Regions from separate parts of the Homo sapiens genome. Here region 2 is linked to region 1. Evidence: promoter capture Hi-C in human tissues and cell types (Jung and others, 2019). All regions are on one chromosome and are shown on one strand. Each heading gives the region's core, a stretch centred on a gene start or on the middle of the fragment in contact. The rest is flanking DNA. Distances are from core to core; before and after follow the strand shown. Region 1 holds the start of GMEB2 (glucocorticoid modulatory element binding protein 2). Region 2 holds the start of PCMTD2 (protein-L-isoaspartate (D-aspartate) O-methyltransferase domain containing 2).

Region 1 (6,185 bases), core at 2,115-4,614:
GCAGTGAGCCAAGATCATGCCACTGCACTCAAGCCTGGGTGACAGAGTGAGACTCTCTCTTAAAAAAAAAAAGCCACTTTAAAATTTTACTCAGGCCAGGTGTGGTGGCTCACGCCCATAATCCTAGCACTTTGGGAGGCCGAGGCGAGCAGATCACCTGAGGTCAGGAGTTAGACCAGCCTGGCCAACATGGTAAAACCTTGTCTCTACTGAAAACACAAAAATTAGCTGGGCGTGGTGGTGTGCCCATGTAATCCCAGCTACTCAGGAGGCTGAAGTGAGAGAACTGCTTGAACCCGGGAGGCAGAGGCTGCAGTGTGCCAAGACTGCACCACTACACTTCAGCCTGGGCGACAGAGCAAGACCCTGTCTCAGAAAAAAAAAAAATTCAAAAATTTGGCCAGGCGTGGTGGCTCACGCCTGTAATCCCATCACTTTGGAAGGCCGAGGCGGGTGGATCACCTGAGGTCAGGAATTCAAGACCAGCCTGGCCACCATGATGAAACCCTGTCTCTACTAAAAATACAAAAAAAAAAAAACAAATTGGCCGGGCATGGTGGCGGGTGCCTGTAATCCCACCTACTTGGGAGGCTGAGGCAGGAGAATCTCTCGAACTCCGGAGGCAGAGGTTGCAGCGAGCCAAGATTGTGCCACTGCACTCCAGCCTAGACAACAGAGCGAGACTCTGTCTCAAAAAAAAAAAAATTAAAATTAAAAAATAAAAATTTCATTTAAAATACTACTGATCTCCCGTGCTGACTTCTCGGGGTTTAACTCTCACTGAGGAGACGCTGCTTTCATAAGGGTAAGCTCAGCAGGGGCAACTAAAGTCATTTAAGCAGAGAGCTGCAAAGAGGCAACAGCCTCACTGCAGGCAGGGGTCCTCGTCACAGCTTCAGGGCTTTGCAGAGGATTACGCAATGTACACGCACAAAACTGAATTCCAGCCTCTCCATTGGCAACTGCATACATACATATATTCTTTTTTTGAGACGGAGTCTCGCTCTGTAGCCCAGGTTGGACTGCAGTGGCCCGATCTCGGCTCAATGCAAGCTCTGCCTCCCGGGTTCAAGCGATTCTCTTGCCTCAGCCTCCTGAGTAGCTGGGATTACAGGCGCCCACCACCACGCCCGGCTAATTTTTGTATTTTTAGTAGAGACGGGGTTTCACCATGTTGGCCAGGACAGTCTCGATCTCCTGACCTCGTGATCCGCCCGCCTCTGCCTCCCAAAGTGCTGGGATTACAGGCGTGAGCCACTGAGCCTGGCCTCCAATGGCAACTATATTAAAGGTTCAAAGCAATATGCACAAAAGTTACCTCACAGAAAATAGTGCAAGTCCTTGATACAATGCTCTTTAGACACAGAAGAAGCACTATAGAATAGAGCACCTCGCCCTATTGCCTTCCCAAGGGCGAGCACCCCCTCCTCTCTCCACAGCTCCTTCTTTGTTTTTTTGAGATGGAGTCTCGCTCTGTCACCCAGGCTGGAGTGCAATGGCAAAATCTTGGCTCACTGCAACCTCCGCCTCCCGGGTTGAAGTGATTCTCCTGCCTCAGCCTCCCGAGTAGCTGGGACTACAGGCACCCAACACGCCTAGCTAATTTTTGCATTTTTGGTAGAGACGGGGTTTCATCATGTTGGCCAGGCTGGTCTCGAACTCCTGACCTCCAGTGATCCTCCCACCTTGACCTCCCATAGTGCTGGGATTATAGGTGTGAGCCACTACACCTGGCCTCTCCACAGCCCCTTCTGTGTTGAAGCCAAGACCCACCCAGCTTTGATCCCAAGGCTTGGGTTCCCCACTAGTGTGAAGTGAGTTTCCAAATTATTAGGTAAATCAGATATGAGAAAATATTTTATTTTACTTTTTTTTTTTTGAGACGCAATCTTGCTCCGTCACCCAGGCTGGAGTGCAATGGCACCATCTCCACTCACTGCAACCTCTGCCTTCTGGGTTCAAGCAATTCTCCTGCCTCAGCCTCCCAACTAGCTGGGATTACAAGTGCACACCACCACGCCCGGCTAACTTTTGTATTTTTAGTAGAGACAGGGTTTCACCGTGTTAGCCAGGCTGCTCTCAAACTCCTGACCTCATGATCCGCCCACGTCGGGCTCCCAAAGTGGTGGGATTACAGGTGTGAGCCATCACACCTGGCCCAAGAAAATATTTTTAAACTAGTATTCTTGACCGGCACGGTCAACACTGATGTAATTGAAACTGTTGTATTTGAAGTGTTAGCAAAGAAAGAGAATTCTGGTTCAACAGAAAAGTCAGTCACGACTTTTCAGTCACGCATGAATTACACAGTAACCAAATAGATAACATGCCATGACTGACGACGGGCCCACAACAAATCAGCTCCGACCAACAGGGTCCACACCACCATGGGTCTACACAGATCCAGGTCCCGCCTGTGAGCCTACAGTGACGCGGGCCCCTGTGGGGTGGTCCCTGCAGGTCAGGTCCCTGAGAGTGGGTCCCAGTGGGGTGATCCCTGCGGGTCGCGTCCCTGCGAGTTGGGTGCCTGCCGGGTGGCCCCTGCGGGTCGGGTGCCTGCGGGGTGGTCCCTATGGGTCGCGTCCCTGCGGGTCGGGTGCCTGCGGGGTGGCCCCTGGGAATCGCGTCCCTGCGGGTCGGGTGCCTGCGGGGTGGCCCCTGGGGATCGCGTCCCTGCGGGTCGGGTGCCTGCGGGGTGGCCCCTGGGGATCGCGTCCCTGCGGGTCGGGTGCCTGCGGGGTGGTCCTTGTGGGTCGCGTCCCTGTGGGGTGGTCCCTGTGGGTCGCGTCCCTGTGGGGTGGCCCCTGCGGGTCGCGTGGTGGCCCCTGCGGGTCGGGTGCCTGCGGGGTGGTCCCTGTGGGTCGCGTCCCTGCGGGTCGGGTGCCTGCGGGGTGGTCCCTGCGGGTCGCACCCCTGCGGCGTGGTCCCCCCGGGATGGGTCCACCGAGGAGGCCGCTGGAGGCCGAGCCCGCGCCCGCCCGCGGCGCCAAGATGGAGGCAGGAAGCGCCGCCGCCCGCGCCCGCCACCGCCCGCGCCGCCCGCCTGACGCCGCCGTTGCGCCTGACGCCGCCGCCCGCGCGGCCGCCCCTCCCCCGGCCCTCCCCTCCCCCCGCCGTAACGTCCTGACGCTCCGCAGGGACCCCTGACTGGACGGCGGCGCGTGAGCGGAGCGAGAGGCCTCGCCGCGGGGGGGCCGCGGGCTCGCCGGCGCCGCTTACCTGGGGCCGCGCCGGGCCTGCTTAGGCACCCGGCGGGGGCGGCGGCGTCGGGAGCTGCGGCGGCGGCGGGCGGCGGCGGCGGCCGCGGGCTTCGCTCCTTGTTGGGGATTCGGCGGCGGCGGCGGCGCGGGCGCGCGCTTCCTAGTGACGCAGGCGGCGGGGCCGCGCACGCACGGGGCTGGGAGGGCCGGACACTTATTTGGCGCTCGCGGAGGAGGAAGGCGGGGCCGTGAAATAAGGCCCGACGGGCCCCGGGGCGCGTGCGCGGACCGACACTGTCAGCTCCTAACGCCGCAGGTTCCTCCTGGTCCCCGAGGCCCCCGGTCGGGCGTTGCCTGCCCCGCGCGGGCGGCCGGGCCGAGGGACGATGGTCAGTGGACGGACGGCGCCAGGGAGCAGTGCCCACGCGCGGCAGGGCGGTACCTTCAGGCCTCCAGGTACGGGCGCTCCTCGCCCGGACGCTGCTGTGTGTGAATGGGCGCGAGGGGACTCCCCTGCGGGGCGGACGCCTGAACACGAGGCTGTGGAGGAGGACGCTGTAGGGTGCGCGGACTCACGCGGAACATGCCAGAGGCTCAGCCAGCCACGGCGCTCCCAGCGTGGAGGGCGAGGGGCATCCGGGAGCGGCCGGGAGGGCTCGGTCACCCCTCAAGCTGTCACCCCAGTCCCACAACCAGCACCCCGATCCTATCGCAGTCCCACAGCCGACACCCCGATCCCACCCCTGCCCAACAGCCGGCACCCACCCCAATCCCATAGCTAACACCCCGGTCCCACCGCTGTCCCACGGCCGGCACCCCGATCCCACCCCAGTCCCGCAGCTGGCACCCCGATCCCACCCCAGCCCAACAGCTGGCACCCACCCCGATCCCACCGCTGTCCCACAGCCGGCACCCCGATCCCACCCCAGTCCCGCAGCCGGCACCCCGATCCCACAGCCGGCACTCACCCCGATCGCATAGCATAGCTGATACCCCGATCCCACCCCAGTCCCATAGCCAGCACCCCGATCCCACCCCAGTCCCATAGCCAGCACCTCGATCCCATAGATGACACCCCGATCCCGCCCCAGTCCTATAGCCCGCACCCCGATCCCACCCGAGTCCCGCAGCCGGCACCCCATCCCACCCATGTCCCACAGTCGGCACCCCGATCCCACTCGGATCCGGCAGCCAGCTTGGATCCTGTGGCCCTCCTCCAGCCCCCAGGGCTCATTTATATGTTTTATTGGCAGAGGCTGGGGCTGGCTCTGTTGGCCTCTGTGCTGGGTTTCTTCCTCTGCACCGCAGGACTGGCTCTCCTGACCTCTCCAGGTGTCATCGAACACCCTTGTGCTTGCTGTCACCCGCTGCCTGTCTGCAGGATCCCGGATTCCGTATCAGGGGACCGAAATTAGTCGGAAAATAGGAAGCAGGTGCTCGCTTGGATGGAACCCTGACCCTGTGCTCACACTTGTAGGAGGAGGGCTCTGCAGGCCGCCTCCCGGAACGGGAGGTTCCCAAGCCACTGCACTTCGGAGGGGCTGTAATTAGAGTTGCACATTCATTCAGTTCCCAGTAAAGTAGAACGTGCTCCAGCCAGTGAGGAAAAGGTGTTTTTAAAAATTAGATTGGCCGAGTGCGGTGGCTCATGCCTTTTACCTCAACACTTTGGGAGACAAAGGTGGGAGGATCACCTGTGGCCAGGAGTTCAAGACCAGCCTGGGCAACAGAGCCTGTCTCTGGGGAAGAATAAAAAAAAAAATTGAGCCTTTGTCAGTGCTACTATTTTATTATCTGGTAAATATGAGAGGGTTCACGCGGTCTATGTGTGTCATTTATCTGAGTTTGCCTATCGTCACGTTTTGGAAATAAATGTCAATAAAGTCGAAGAGGAGTGCTGAGGGGGGCCTGGGGATGGGAGGGTGGCTACATCATGCCTGTGTGTTGCGCAAGCCCACCGAGGTCGGCCTGGGGTGAGCCCTGGGGCCTGTTCTGCCTCCTTCACTCTGGGGCTCCAAGAGACAAACTGGGCAACAAGAGAGAAACTCCATCTAAAAAAAAAGAAAAATCACCTCCAAGATAACTTAGCTTTCTTCTGCTGGCATAACAAATTATCTCAAACTTAGTCGCTTAAAAATGCAAATTTAGGCTGAGTGCGGAGGCTCACGCCCATAATCCTAGCACTTTGGGAGGCCAAGGCAGGATTGCTTGAGGCCAGGAGTTCGAGACCAACATGGCCAGAACTGTCTCTTTTTAAAAAATGCAAATGTGTCCGGCACGGTGGCTCACGCCTATAATCCCAGCACTTTGTGAGGCCAAGGCGGGCAGATCACGAGGTCAGGAGATAGAGACCATCCTGGCTAACACTGTGAAACCCCCTCTCTACTAAAAATACAAAAAATTAGCCTGGCGTGGTGGCAGGCGCCTGTAGTCCCAGCTACTCGGGAGGCTGAGGCAGGAGAATGGCGTGAACCCAGGAAGCGGAGCTTGCAGTGAGCCGAGATGGCGCCACTGCACTCCAGCCTAGGCAACAGAGCAAGACTCCGTCTCAAAAAATAAATAAATAAAACTGCAAATGTATTCTCTAACTGTTCTGTAGGTCGGAAGTCCAGCCCAGCCTCACTCCGCCAAAATCAGGGTGTCTGCAGGGCCGATTGCTTTTGGAGCTCCAGGGGAGAAGCTGTTCTGGCCTTTCCAGTTTCTGGAAGCACTTGAGCCCCTTGTCTCGTGGCCTATCCCACACCTGAAAGCCAGCCAAAGCCAGTTGAGTCCTCACCCTGTTGGCCCCGACACTGATCTCCTGCCTCCCTCATCTGCTGTCAAGGCCCCTTGTGATGACATGGGGCCACCAGCTGGCCCAGGGCACCTCCTGTCAGAGTCCGCCGACCAGTGACCTTCATTCCATCTGTCGCTGTAATTCCCCTTTGCTTGGAACCAACGTTCACAGATCCCAGGGGTTAGGATGTGAATATCTTGGGCAGGGCT
Region 2 (5,804 bases), core at 420-2,919, 630 kb after region 1:
ATACAGCTTAGAAGGTATACGAGCTTTGGAAAACTTTGTAATTTTGAGTTGGTATGGTGATAATTTCCAGGCCTTCTCCTTGTAACCGGTTACAGAAATAAAACCTCTCTTACTCTCCAGCTCATTTGCATCTTGTTATTGGGCCAGGAGAAGTAGTAGCCCGACCCTCAGTTGGGTCCAGGAACAAAGGGAGTGTCTGAAGACAGCAGTGATGTGATCACCTGTTTTAGGAGGACCACTCGCCAGAGCCCAGGGGAATGGTGGGAGGGGTGGGGAGAGGTGAGGGGAGCTGGGACAGGGCAAGGAGGGATGTATGGAGGACGTGTCCCCTGGCAGTAGGAAGAGAGTCAAGGATGACTCCAGGGCTTCTGTAATTTGAAACAGTCACAAATAACCACAAGCTCTCAGGTGGAAGGACACTGAGAGCCCCATGAAGGTCATGAGGTGGTGGGCCACCTCAGGTCCGTGGATCCAGGACCATGGATCAACAAGAGAAGTGAGGTCTCCCTGGGACCACATAACGTGGTGAAGGCACCGGCCTTTGGTTTTCAAACTCTGCTCCTAAGTGGAGCTCCAGGGTCTGGGGAGGAATGCCGAGTTAGGAGGGAGGCGGGAACCGGAGACCCAGGCCCACTCGTCCGCCCCAGCGACGCTGGCACTTGCACATATGAGGCGGCTTGCATGGCTGTGCTTGAAGAAAGGGTTCTGCAGCTACAGCCTATCTGCAAAGCCCCACGCGAAGTTTGGGCAATGGGCTGTGTGAACCCAGAAAATGGGAGACAGGTCTCAGTTAATTTACAAAGTTTATTTTGCCAAGGGTGAGGACGCGCCCGTGACACAGCCTCAGGAAGTCCTGACATGTGCCCAAGGTGGTCGGGGCACAGCTTGGTTTTATACATTTAGGGAGACAGGATACATCCATCGATACATGTAAGAAGCACATCGGTTCGGTCTGGAAAGACGGGACAACTTGAAGCAAAGGCAGGAAGACTCCAAGCGGGGAGGGAGCGTCCAGGCCACAGATAGGTGAGACACCAACGGTTAAATTCTTTTGAGTTTCTCATTTGCCTTTTCAAAGGAGGCAAATCAGATATGTATCTATCTAAGTGAGCAGAGGAGTGACTTTGAATGGAATGGGAAGCAGGCCTGCCCTAAGCAGTTTCCTGCTGGAGTTTTCCTTAGTGATCTTGGGGGCCCAGGATATCTTCCTTTCACAGCTGATTTCACAAAGCCGGCTGGGTAGGAGGGCCCCAGGGCCGGGTGGCCGTCCGCGTGGCAGGGCGGGGGTCCCAGGGCGGCTGTGCTTGGTGCTGGGAGGCCGCCCGAGGGCAGCGCCGGCCCCGAGTCAGCAGCCGCAGGGCACCCTGGAGATGCGGAACGCCCCCAGCCGTGGGTCAGCAAAGGCGTCTCAGGTGACCCTTAGGGAGGGCTTCTGAGGCAGCCCGTGCGGGGTCCGTCCTGGCTGAGCACTGCGCGGACGGCGCGCCCGCGAGACTCGGACCCGGCCTAGGGCTCAGCGAGCTCTCAGCGGGGCGGGCGGACGCAGGCAGCCCAGGGGAGTGGGGCCCGCCCTGCGCCGCCATCACCCCTTTAAGTGCCAGGCCCGCGGCGCATGCGCAGTCAGGCCGTTGTGCGCAGGCGCAGAGGCGGCGGCGGCGGCGGCGGCGGCGGATGTTTACGGCGGCCGAGGTTGGAGCGGCGCTGCTCGGCCGCGGACACACGAGGGACGCGCCCGAGGAGCTGCAGGTGGCAGCCCAGGCGGTCCGAACCCGTCGGCCGGCCGAGCCTGGAGGTAGAGCCGCCGCCGCCGCCGCCGCCCCTCGGTCCGGCCTGCGGCGAGCGGGTGGTGTGTCCCCTCGGCCCCTTCCCTCCTCCTTCCCCACCCCCGGCACCCCTGCGCCCGGAGCTCTCCTCTGGGGGCGTCGCTCCTCCCCACCTCGGGCACCCTCACCTCCCCCCAGCGGCCTCCAGGGCGTCCCGCGTTTCTCTCTCCGAGCGCTCGCGGTTTCCCGTCGGTCTCTCCCGGTGCCCGTTGCTCACTCACACTCTTGGGTCTGGTTAGTCCAGACCTGCAGCTTGTCTTTGACTTCCCAAGTGGGAAACGTTTGCAGTTCCAAGGCAAGCCAAGAGCTAAGGTTTAGAACAAAGTCTGCCTTGGACCCTTTCAGAAGATGACAGGATTTTTTAAAAAAATAATTGCGCCCCCCCGCCCCGTGCCTTGGAGATAGTAAGAATTGGAGCAGAGCACTGGGACTTCAATTCACGCATGGAAAGAGATCTTTGTTAGTTGGAGGAAGGAGAACTTGCCTGAGCTTCGGGCCTTTGTTTTGTTTTTGTGAGAGGGACGTGTCTCCTAAATGAATGTTTGCTCCAGCGTTGCACCTCAAATAAGTCACCTAAATATCCACGCCCTCTTTATCCACCCCCTCTTTACTCGTGTGACTAGAATAGTTTTCATTTTTCTTCTCAAGGGAATGGCTAAACAGCTCCTATCTGGGCGTTTGATAGACTGTCATTCAAGAATGAGTGAAGTTGAGGTGCCTATAAGCAACTCAGAAATTGTTGTGGCCACGCTTGGGGGAAATAGAGCCCTACACTCAGGTGATGAGAGGAGACCTCAGAGGTGACCGATCCAGGGCCTTGCTCCCTGCGCCACCCCAGCTCGTACCTCCAGTGGAACTTGGCTGGGCTTATCAAGAGCTCCTTTCATTCATTGCAACTTCATTTGTTAGAAAGCTTCTCTGTGTATTTAGTAGGCATTGTCTCCAACATGTACCACTGGTCTGGCTTTTGTTAGGCCCATTAATAGTGTACATGTGACAGCCTTTCAAGTATAGGTGCTCCCCGGCTTACGGTGGGGTCGCATCCCAGTAAACACATCGTTAAACCTGAAGTCGAACCATCCGAAGTCGGAGACCATCTGTATTTGAAAAAAGTCCCTTTGCATTGCTTGTAAGAGTTCTGGTTTTCAAGGTGAGAAATCTGTTTGTGTGTTTGTTTGATCATTCTGCCCAAAGGAGATGTGGCTTTGGGTCCTTTTCCCCACTCATCTTCCACAATGAATTACTTTGTCCATATTACCCTAAAGAAGTGACATCCAAGTTGGAATGTGATCTTCCGTATGTCGCCTCCCAAAACCCCACTACCATAGCTTCATGCTTGTGTTGACACAGCCACAATCACAACTCAGGTGTCAGTTCTGAGACCTTCCCATGCCTGTCGCCACTCAGCAAGTGTTCTTCATGTGCCCTGGCAGTTCGCATTGTAAGGAGCAGCCAGGTTGTTATGGACTGTTGCTAGTTACCACAGAGTAGTGAATTATATTAAGGATTAATTACAGCAGACAATGTGCACAGTATCATCGAGTGCAGCGTTCTAAAAATGATTCTACACTTTTACTTTGAAAAATTGGATTTGACCAGATTGTAGAATCTGGGTGAAAATGATAGGATTTGGTTTGGCGAAGAGCTTTGTTGTCGGTGTTTTTGGTGACATCATGACTGATCATATCGATGGTTTTCAGTGCGAGGGAGTGTTAGATTACCAGACAAAGATGGTAATAAATATCAGACCCCACAGCTATTCACATGGATCCTACCAGTGGCAATAGGTATAGATAGGGTTACCCCATCGTCAAAAGGTTACCGGTGTGTTGTGTGGTAAAGAACGTTGCTGTCTTGAGTATTTTTAAAAGCTGCACTGGTGTGGTATTAAAAACACAGGCCTTTTGCCATACAGTCCTGGGTTTGAATGCAGCCCCCTCCTCACAAACTGGCTATGTGATCATGAACAAATTAACCGGCCAGCTCCAATTTGCTTCTTAATGTTGTGAAGTGTAAATGAGGCCATGACTGGCAGGTGGTACCTGGAAAAAGGTGCTTGTTTTTACTAAAAAGCTGTCTGAACTTTCAAATTAAGGCAGAGTTCAAAATAAGTGATAGTTACTTAGTGGAAAATGAAACCTATCCAACATACAGTTTGAGGTTACCTTCTAGAGATGTGGCATTGAGACAATGTTGGAACATTATATACAGGCTTCTGGGTGAAGAGGTGGCTTTGACTGAGGACGGTATGCGATTTTCCAGCTCTTTTCCTAAATAGACCCTTAAGCATCCAAACACATGATTCCGCTTTTAACCACTGACCCAAATTTTAAGATGACTGTGGTAGGCTAGGGTGCAGCCTCAGAACTGAGTGGCTTATCCAGGATTAAAGTTGACCTCATTAGGACTTAATTCCATCTAAGTCTAAGTCAGCTGGCTGTGGACCGTAATCTAACAAGGGCTCCGAAACAATTCAAAAAATTCAAAAAGGGTGTGAAAATTTAATGACTGGACCATCCTATTGATTTGCAAAACCTAATATTCAGCTCTAAAATCTTGAGTGTGAAGATTGAGTGTTCCACCATAAAAATAGAAGAGAATTTGTGTTAAGCTATACCCTTCACACTTTTTGTTCACTTGTAAGAAACTATGTGATTATTTTCATTCCTGGGAAAACCTCCCACCGCTGTCTCCAGTTGTGTACGTGGGTGTGTATGAAATCCGCCCCAGGCCCCTTGTCACCCCACAGTATTTCTTTACGATCCTCATTCTACTGTTAGAAATCCAGAGGAATGTGAGGAGGAAAGCAAGTATAAACTTCATCATAATTATAACAAGTTGTTAAAAAGGTTGTGTTCATTTCAGAAAATGTCTTCATGAGGTCTGGTGGTCTTTTTCCCTGACAATTTGTATCTGGTGTTTTGTAAAGCATTACCATTTTATATGAAGTTAAAGCAGTTACTTTGAAAAAGTTACATGGGGTAAGTATAAAATTGGAAAGGATATTTTTGTAGTTTTAAGAAGAGTAAGACTTCTCCGCGTGAAAAAGTGTTTTCTTGTGAATTAGCTGAAGCTACCCTGTATTTTAATAGTTAGGCTCAGAGGTGACACATGCTGTGCTTTTTCTTCTTGAAGGCAGGTTGGGAGAAGGTAAGACAAGTAGTTGTTATTTTTAAAGAGCTGGGAAAGCTGCGTATCATGCAATTGAGGAGGGGCTGTAGGAAGTTCTGGTAGCAGCCCCTCCTACACTTAAACTTTAGCCAGGAAGCTGATTTTGCATTTGTTAGAAAAAGGTATTTGTCACAGTACGTTCAATTTGGGAAGAGTGTTTTCTTGCTGTTTTTGTCTAAAATTTGAACATCAAAATATCCAAATCAACAGGTCAGATGGATTGCTTGACTTGGGTGGGTACTTTTGTGTATGTTGGGGATATAGAATTCCCAGATGTAATATAGGACACCACCTAAAGTTTTTTTTCTTTTCTCTTTTTTTTTTTTTTTTTTTTGAGACAGAGTCTTGCTCTGTTCCGCAAGCTGGAGTGCAGTGGTACGAGCTCTGATCACTGCAACCTCTGCCTCCCGGGTTCAAGTGATTCTTCTCCCTCAGCCTCGCCAGTAGCTGGGATTACAGGCATCCACCAGCATGCCTGGCTAATTTTTGTATTTTTTAGTAGAGACGGGGTTTCACCATGTTGGCCAGGCTGTTCTTGAACTCCTGACCTCAGGTGATCCAACTGCCTCGGCCTCCCAAAGTGCTGGGATTACAGTCATGACCCACCGCACCCGGCCTAAATTTGAATTTCAAATAAACGTCAAATAACTTTTAGTATTGTTGTTTACCTTAATTTCCAATTGAACTGGGATTTTTTTTCCTTCTAAATCTGGCATCTCTGGGTGGGGCAGGGGATGAGGTGGGTGTTGACAAAAGATAATCTATTATTTTCAGAATTCAGAATTTCAAATTGGTATCTGTTTAGAACTT

Evidence for each region. The method cuts DNA at HindIII sites, captures the fragments that hold promoters and counts their contacts. A contact is called where the count stands out against the background at its distance.
Region 2: a contact is called between the fragment with the promoter of PCMTD2 here and the fragment with the promoter of GMEB2 in region 1, in 1 of the 25 tissues and cell types used here (dorsolateral prefrontal cortex).

Annotation. Positions count from the first base shown.
Region 1 is chr20:63,623,737-63,629,921 of GRCh38, forward strand. It overlaps GMEB2 (glucocorticoid modulatory element binding protein 2), which reads right to left and starts at 3,365. Exons shown (of 10, transcript NM_012384.5): 1 at 3,220-3,365. It overlaps MHENCR (melanoma highly expressed competing endogenous lncRNA for miR-425 and miR-489), which reads left to right and starts at 3,499. Exons shown (of 2, transcript NR_132417.1): 1 at 3,499-3,656; 2 at 4,454-5,088. RefSeq lists silencers at 2,727-3,266, 3,357-3,806. The HindIII fragment of the contact is 46,766 bases long and covers 1-6,185 here.
Region 2 is chr20:64,254,079-64,259,882 of GRCh38, forward strand. PCMTD2 (protein-L-isoaspartate (D-aspartate) O-methyltransferase domain containing 2) reads left to right here and starts at 1,670. Exons shown (of 6, transcript NM_018257.3): 1 at 1,670-1,792. The HindIII fragment of the contact is 11,329 bases long and covers 1-5,603 here.